Linked DNA regions of Homo sapiens: region 2 is linked to region 1. Evidence: promoter capture Hi-C in 16 types of primary human blood cells and fetal thymus (Javierre and others, 2016). All regions are on one chromosome and are shown on one strand. Each heading gives the region's core, a stretch centred on a gene start or on the middle of the fragment in contact. The rest is flanking DNA. Distances are from core to core; before and after follow the strand shown.

Region 1 (3,887 bases), core at 717-3,216:
TGCACTGAGAGAAGGTGGTGTTGTAGGGAAAAAACTGGATTAAAGAAAAATTAGAGGTCATTTGAGCTATTTTACAACTCTGTAAATTTTAACAACTGATGGCAATGTTAAGTAATTATTGTCTATAGACATGCAAATAAGGTTTATCCCATGAAGGACAACAGTCTTCCTTTCCCCCATGGAAAACCAGTTTCAATATTCCTGATCTATATTTCATTATTCAATATTCCTGATCTACGAATGTACCCATTCTTTGGGTTCTTCTTTGATCTGGCTACTACAGACTCATCAGTTTCGTCACTAATAAGTGCCGGGACTCAGAAGCCGATACCCCAAAATATGGGGCTTTGACATGCTGGAGACCTCAAGGTCTCTCTGACCTTCCCGGCTCCCAGCTCAAAAAAACCTTTGTCTGCCTAAGATCCAGACCCACCAAAAGGAACAACTGTTTCTTTTCCCTTCCCTGTAAGACCAAGAATATACCCCACACCTGAACAGACCCATTCACAAGATAATGTAGCTTATTCTCTCCCCTGACCCATTCATGCTCCCTAGCAGAAGCCCATCCACTTCTGCTGGATGCTCTTCGGCTCCCTCCCGTAACCTCATTTGCCAGGGTAGTCTATAAGCTTCTGAGACATGTTGCAGGGTGGGTAATCAATCACTCTGATTCTCCCTGTGTGCATGTTAAATAAATGTGTATGCATTTACCATTACACAACCTTAAAAGAGTGTTGTTGGTCTATTAGCAATAATGACTGAAGGAAATTGGTATTTTTGTCCATTTCAGCTACTACTAGGATAATCTTATAAGATATTTGGGAAGTTATGTTTTGGTCTATTTAATATATGTGCCTCGATGAAAAAAACACCTTTTGCCACAGGAGACACCAATGTTTCAATATTGATAGGAGCAAAACACATGAGAGTGCTTTTTTTTTTTTTTTTTTTTTTTTTTTGAGGCAGAATCTTGCTGGGTCGCCCAGGCTGGAGTGCAGTGGTGCAATCTTGGCTCACTGCAACCTTCGCCTCCCAAGTTCAAGCCATTCTTCAGCCTCAGCCTCCAGTGTAGCTGGGATTACAGGCACCCGCCACCATGCCCGGCTAATTTTTGCCTTTTTAGTAGAGACGGGGTTTCATCCCAGGGCCAAGCTGGTCTCGAATTCCTGACCTCAAGCAATCCGCCCCGCTCAGCCTCCCAAAGTGCTGGGATTACAGGCGTGAGCCACTGCGCCTGGCCTGAGAGTACTTTTAGAAAACATTATTCCTTTACCTTTTTCAAACTTGAAGCACTCCGAAAGTCCCAACCTTTTGCACATTTGCGGCAGCGACATTGATTTGGTAAACAGCTGTCACACTATTTATTATTTGATGACTTAGGTATCCTTTCCAGCAGTGTTTTTGTAAGGTGTAGTTGCGTTTTCTTTTAGTTTCAATTAACTAAATTTCAAGTGGTTCCCAAAAAAGCCCCTGCTCTCTTAAATTCAAACTCACCTTCCTTTTTCCCACTAGGAAGGACCTTTTCTCCATCCTTGGATTGGAATTTGGAATTCTATGCTAAAATGCCTTTTCAGTTAAAATCTGTGAACGTGGGATGTAACCATAGGAGGTGCTGGCACTTTACGGGAATCATGATTTTATTTAATCTGCGCTTCCAGAAGGCTGCAAATGGGAATTCCAGACAAACCCACTTGGGTGAATCCCAGCACGCGGGCTGCGGCGTAGGGGGAGAGCTCCTCACGCGGCTCAGAGTGTAGCCCAGGCCCGCAGAGCCAGGAACCCGCCCCCAGCTCTCCAAACCCGGGAAGAGAGAGGCGACACTGCTAAGACCGAGGGATGACGGTGCTTCTTCAATTAATTCGCCCCCCGAGATATTCTTACCTACAGAAGGGAGTGTCTGTTCACCAAATCGCTCACTTGCCGCACGACCACGCACCCGCGGCTGTCGGATGGATCCAGGCGCTCTTGGTGGGAAGGGGGCGGAGCCTGCCTGGCCCGGAGCCCGGGGCCACGCCCCCACGCTTTGCATATGCGAATCCGGGCGTCCAGACCTTTCATCCCAGTGTGGAAGCCCAGATTTTCCTGGCCCAGGGCCGGTTTTCTGGGCAGAAACAGTCAACTCTGCTGAAAGGAACAACTTAAGTAATACACTGACATTCAGCATAATGAAGCAAGAGGGCCTGAATCCAACAGCGATCGTTTGCTTTATTTACAAATATGTCCTTTCTTATGAATCCATTTATTTCTCTCCAAAAGCTTAGGAGAGAGGGCTGGCTGGCTGTCACCCCCACTCTACACATGAAGAAAGTGAGGCGGAAGGAAGTAGGCCTAGTAAATAGAGAAGCCTGGGTTTTAGTTGGGGCTCCTGGCTCCAGAGCCAGTGGTTATAATCACTCTGCACTTTTTTTTTTTAAAGGAGGTAGAGTGGGATGGTTTCCTGGCACTTTGAAAATCTGATACAAACAATTTTTTCTTTTCTTCTTCTTTTTCTTTTCTTTTCTCTTTTCTTTCTTTCTTTTTTTTTTTTTTGAGACAGAGTCTCCCTCTGTCGCCCAGGATGGAGTGCAGTGGCGCGATCTCGGCTCACTACAACCCTCCGCCTCCCGGGTTCAAGCGATTCTCCTGCCTCAGCCTCCAAAAATTAACGCCCAGTTAATTTTTGTGTTTTTAGTAGAGACGGGGTTTGGTTTCACCATATTGGCCAGGCTCATCTCGAACTCCTGGCCTCGTGATCCGCCTGCCTCGGCCTCTCAAAGTGCTGAGATTACAGGCGTGAGCCACCGCGCCTGGTCTTTTTTCTTTCTTTCTTTCTTTCTTTTTTTTTTTGAGATGGAGCCTCGCTGTTGTTGGCCCCGGGCTGGAGTGCAATGGCACGATCTTGGCTCACTGCAACCTCCACCTCCCGGGTTCCAGCAATTCTTCTGCCTCAGCCTCCCTAGTAGCTGGGATTACAGGCGCCCGTCACCACACCCAGCTAATTTTTGTATTTTTAGTAGAGATGGGGTTTCACCATGTTGTCCAGGCTGGTCTCAAACTCCTGACCTCAGGTGATCCACCCGCCTCGGCCTCCCAAAGTGCTAGGATTACAGGTGTGAGCCACAGCACCCGGCCACCTGGCCTCTTTTCTTTTCTTTTCTCTTTCTTTCTTTCTTTTTTTTTTTTTTTTGACAAAGTCTCACTTTATCTCCCAGGCTGGAGTGCAGTGGTGCAACCCCAGCTCACTGCAACCTCAATCTCCCAGGCACACTGATCCTCCTGCCTCAGCCTCCCAAGTAGCTGGGCTTGCAGGTGGGTGCCACCACGTCACATTAATTTTTTTGTTTTTTTTTTTTGGTAGAGACAGAGTCTCACTATCTTGCCCAGGCTGGTCTTGAACTCCTGGGCTCAAAGGATCCTCCTGCCTTGCCCGCCCAAAGTGTTGGGATTACAGGCATGAGCCACTACGCTTAGCCTGCAAAGAGTTTATATATTAAAGTGAAACTTCTTATTAAACAGAGAATTTTTTTAAAGCATTACAAGGTTCTTATTGGTTAAAATGGAAAAAATATTTTTATTTCTGTTCATCTCTTGGTGGACTTGAAAAACCCTCCCTAAAGATAAACACTGCGTGGCTTCTAAGGGCTACCAGTGGAAGTGAAATGGATTAAAACACCCCGAGGTGTCTTGGTTCTCTGTCCTACGACTCTGCGTTTTCTATTTTCATCTTCCTATGATTTGTGAAAAGTCCTGAGCTGAACCTTAGGTGTAGGAGTGCCCTGCTCATTGTGCAACCTTGCAAATTGCTGGGTCCTCCCAAAGAATATTGTGAAATTTTCTTAAAGGCTGAAGGTGTCATGATTTCCTTCACACCTCTTGAAGAAAATGAGTTCAAATTGGACCTTGAGAAG
Region 2 (3,887 bases), core at 726-3,225, 420 kb before region 1:
TGTCACAGAGCTGTCAACTTCTGAGAGCCTCTTTCAGTCACCAAGGAATTTCTCACACTGTCTCTGCAATTTAGGTGTGCTGCCAGAAGAAGGCAGTGATTACAGGCCCATACAATCAGATAGGACAGTGGGTTTTTTCTTGTGATACAAAGTGGCCCATTTCTGCTGTACTCATCTCAGACTTATAAAAATAAATTTCCAAACCTTCTAATAAAAAACACTTGTCGGCCGGGCGCGGTGGCTCACGCCTGTAATCCTAGCACTTTGGGAGGCCGAGACGGGCGGATCACGAGGTCAGGAGATCGAGACCATCTTGGCTAACATGGTGAAACCCCGTTTCTACTAAAAATACAAAAAATTAGCCGGGCGTTTTGGCGGGCGCCTGTAGTCCCAGCTACTTGGGAGGCTGAGGCAGGAGAATGGCATGAACCTGGGAGGCGGAGCTTGCAGTGAGCCGAGATCGCGCCACTGCACTCCAACCTGGGAGACACAGCGAGACTCCGTCTCAAAAAAAAAAAAAAAAACAAAAAAAAAAAACAAAAAAAAAAACACTTGTCTTACAAAGACTAACAAAAGATACAAAATAAAATAACTTTACAGCATCATTAGAAAGCGAACAAAATCCTAAGATAGATACATTTATCTTTCTTGTTTTAGAACTTTTTCTGTGTAATGGAATGGAAATGCTTAATCTTGTTTCAATGTTTTCAGTGTTTGTGCTTTGTCAAATTGAGGTTGGATGTTAAAGCCCTTACTACTGTATTATACAAAGCAGCAACCAGATGTTTCAATAGGGCTTGGCTGCTTTCTTAGGTTTATTCTCTTCCCAATTATCTGAGTACAGCTCTCACACTAAAAGCCAGAGATAGACCACTAGAGAATGATTAATAGAAGTTCCTATAAGCAGAAGTTGCTAACGTGGGATTCCATGGACCACTGGGAAAATCTATGGGATCCCAAGAAGCCCAGCAACCTCTTGAAACTAAATGCAAAATGTTTGAAAATGTTTTTGTAGGGTAGAGTCTATTTTTCAGATTTAGATTTTTAGATTTTCAACAGTATATGTATGACTCCAATATATAAAAAGTATTACTTAGGGAACCTTCTCCCTCTTTTTGGAGACAATAAAATACCACCTTTCCTAAATATTTCCACCAGCTATAGTCTCCAGTAGTAACTGCTAAAACAAGAAAAAAATTTAGACACTACACAGACCCAAGAAAGCAACTGTTTACTACTTGGAGCACAGACAAATGTCTTTGTTCTTTATATTTAGATTAAGTCCTCAGAAAACCTGAGATTGCTTCCACTGAGATATTTGCTCAACGAAAAATCCTATTTGACTTCACACTCAATTAACTGATAGTTTCATTTAGATTTAAAGTTTTCACAGGTAACCACCAGAATAAATTTTTAGAACTGTGCATTGAACACAAAATGAGCTGGTTTTATCATGTCAGCAAAATGAGAGTAACAGAGTAGTATATTTTAATTGGCTACCATAGAAATTTTGTAAATCTTTATCAAACCTATATGTTCGGGTTTGTCGTAAAACTGAAGTGAAGATTTAATGAACACTAAATCATTGGAAGGTTTTTAAAACATGTGATTGACATATGTGCATGCATAGCATTTGTAGGATACATCTTTATTTAGTCTATTTCTTTCTTACTCCCAGCTACTCATCACAATTTGTAACTATATATTTGTGTGATTATTTAATATCTATCTCCTTACTGGTCTCTGAAGCTCCATGAAGGCAGGGACTGTGTATGTCATAAATCTATATAGGTTACCATTATATCCTGGTAAAAGCTGGCTTCCTGGGTATGCTACCAGTGCAGTCACAGAAATCCTGTGCTAAGAAGGGCCTCCACACTTGGTCTGACGCTATGCTGTTGCTGTCTTGAAATTCACTTTAAAAAGTTTTAAGGGAAACTGCATTTTCATTTTGCACTGGGCCCCATAAACCATGTGGCCGTCTTATTCCCAGCACCTATCACAGTGCTGGCAGATAGCAGATACTAATATGAATTGATGAATGAATGAAAAAATTAGTGAATAAAGTTTATGCTGAATTCTTACCACATATCCTGCTTATATGAGAATTTTAAAGGTATTTGACTACATTTAAGGGGGATCCAGGACTGCCGGGTGATATGGGAAAGAAAGGAGAAATGGGGCAACCTGGCCCACCTGGACATTTGGGGCCTGCTGGACCTGAGGGAGCCCCTGGAAGTCCTGGAAGTCCTGGCCTCCCAGGTAAGGCTTGAGTTTACAATTCTAAAAGCTGGAAGCATTACTCAGAGTATAGCCCTCCTGAAATCATTGTGGTAAACAGAAAGCTATTTATACTTTTATGCTGCAGTTGCTTTTATTCAACTTTGAACTTCAAATTCTAACACACTAAGAGAATTCATTAAGAGAGCCCAATTTTACTAATCAGCCCATTTGGACTGAAATACAAAAATATGTTCCTATAAAAAACACTTTTGAAGAACTGCCTCAACAAATTCAGCCCAAGGATACAAAATGTTAGCCGTTATACAATCATAATGTTTGTATTAGTTTGTCCAGGCTTCCATAGTGAATTCCACAGACTAGGTGGCTTAAACTACACTTGATGTTAGCCAAAAGGCTGAGAAGTGATTAGGTGGCTTAAACTACAGATGTTTATTTTCTCACAGTTCCAGCAGCTCCGAGTCTGTGATCAAGCTGTCGGCAGCGTTGGTTTCTTGTGGGGCCCCTGTTCTTGGCTTGTGGATGGCTATCTTCTTCCAGTGTTTTCCAAGTGTCTGAATCTTCTTTTCTTATAAAGACACCACTCACATTGGATTAGGGCCCACCCTACTGACCTCATTTTAATTTAATTACCTGTTTACCAGCCCTATCCCCAAATACAGAGTCATGTTCCGAAGTACTGAAGGTTAGGACTTCAGCATATGAATTTGGGGACAACACAATTCAAACTACAACACTGTGCTGTGACTCTTTTTCGAACCCATTTCTGGATTGAATTTTGGCTTTCTGGCTTATTAGCTTACAATTCAGGTTTAGGGTTTTGTTTTATTAAAAACAACTGTGAAACTATCGGGTTGCAGATTCAGGTCTTACTTAAATACAATAAACTACCTGTTCAAATACAGAAAGTTTCAATAAATTTGCATTTAACTCGCAATTAAAATAAAATCGCATATTGAGTGGTGCTTGTGGTTGGTGTACACACATCTTTGAAAGTGATTAGACACATCTCTGCACTGGTTCTCCAGGAAAATTGCAGCCTGGACAAAATCATGGGGTGACCTTGCAACAAGAGAGCTTCCTTAAGGCCAGCGTGAGCATGGTTGACTATAAAAACAGACCGTTTCAGTCACTGTTGTAATCATTTATCTTTTGGTGATCTTTTTTCTTCCTTCCCCTCTCTTCATTTCCAGGAAAGCCAGGTCCTCATGGTGATTTGGGTTTTAAAGGAATCAAAGGCCTCCTGGGCCCTCCAGGAATCAGAGGCCCTCCAGGTTTCATTTTTGTACTTTCTCTTTTTCCTTTTCATGTGGGAGACACATTTTCTCCTGAGGTTTGGATTTCTGTAAACCTACTACTCTATAGAAGGTAGCTCCTAGTTACTCAGTATCCAGACAAAAATGCAAAAAAAATGGGGTTAGATATTTCTATCTATTTAATTCAAATATTTGGCAACCTATTCCAAACTGATAATCCTCATGATAATAGTAATCTGTATGTGGTTTTCCCTGGGAACATAGCTTCACATAGCTACAGTTCTGAAAAACAGCCTGTTTAACACAATTCCACACATCTCCCTGGTATTCCCATTAGGCCACTGGCAAGAAATAAATCCTCTTTTTGTATACCATAGTTTGGGGTTTTTG

What was found. Contacts are between HindIII fragments. The CHiCAGO score rates a contact against its expected background, and 5 or more counts as called.
Region 2: a contact is called between a fragment that was not itself captured here and the fragment with the promoter of SLC19A3 in region 1, in 2 of 17 cell types (activated CD4 T cells and monocytes). The highest score is 6.0, in activated CD4 T cells.

Annotation. Positions count from the first base shown.
Region 1 is chr2:227,716,062-227,719,948 of GRCh38, forward strand. It overlaps SLC19A3 (solute carrier family 19 member 3), which reads right to left and starts at 1,967. Exons shown (of 6, transcript NM_025243.4): 1 at 1,882-1,967. RefSeq lists an enhancer at 1,498-2,384. The HindIII fragment of the contact is 1,627 bases long and covers 628-2,254 here.
Region 2 is chr2:227,291,056-227,294,942 of GRCh38, forward strand. COL4A3 (collagen type IV alpha 3 chain) reads left to right here. Exons shown (of 52, transcript NM_000091.5): 38 at 2,136-2,262; 39 at 3,435-3,515. All of the region lies in intron 2 of MFF-DT (MFF divergent transcript), which reads right to left. Among named protein-coding and RNA genes, the nearest start is that of MFF-DT, 32 kb to the right of the region's middle. The HindIII fragment of the contact is 4,732 bases long and covers 1-3,887 here.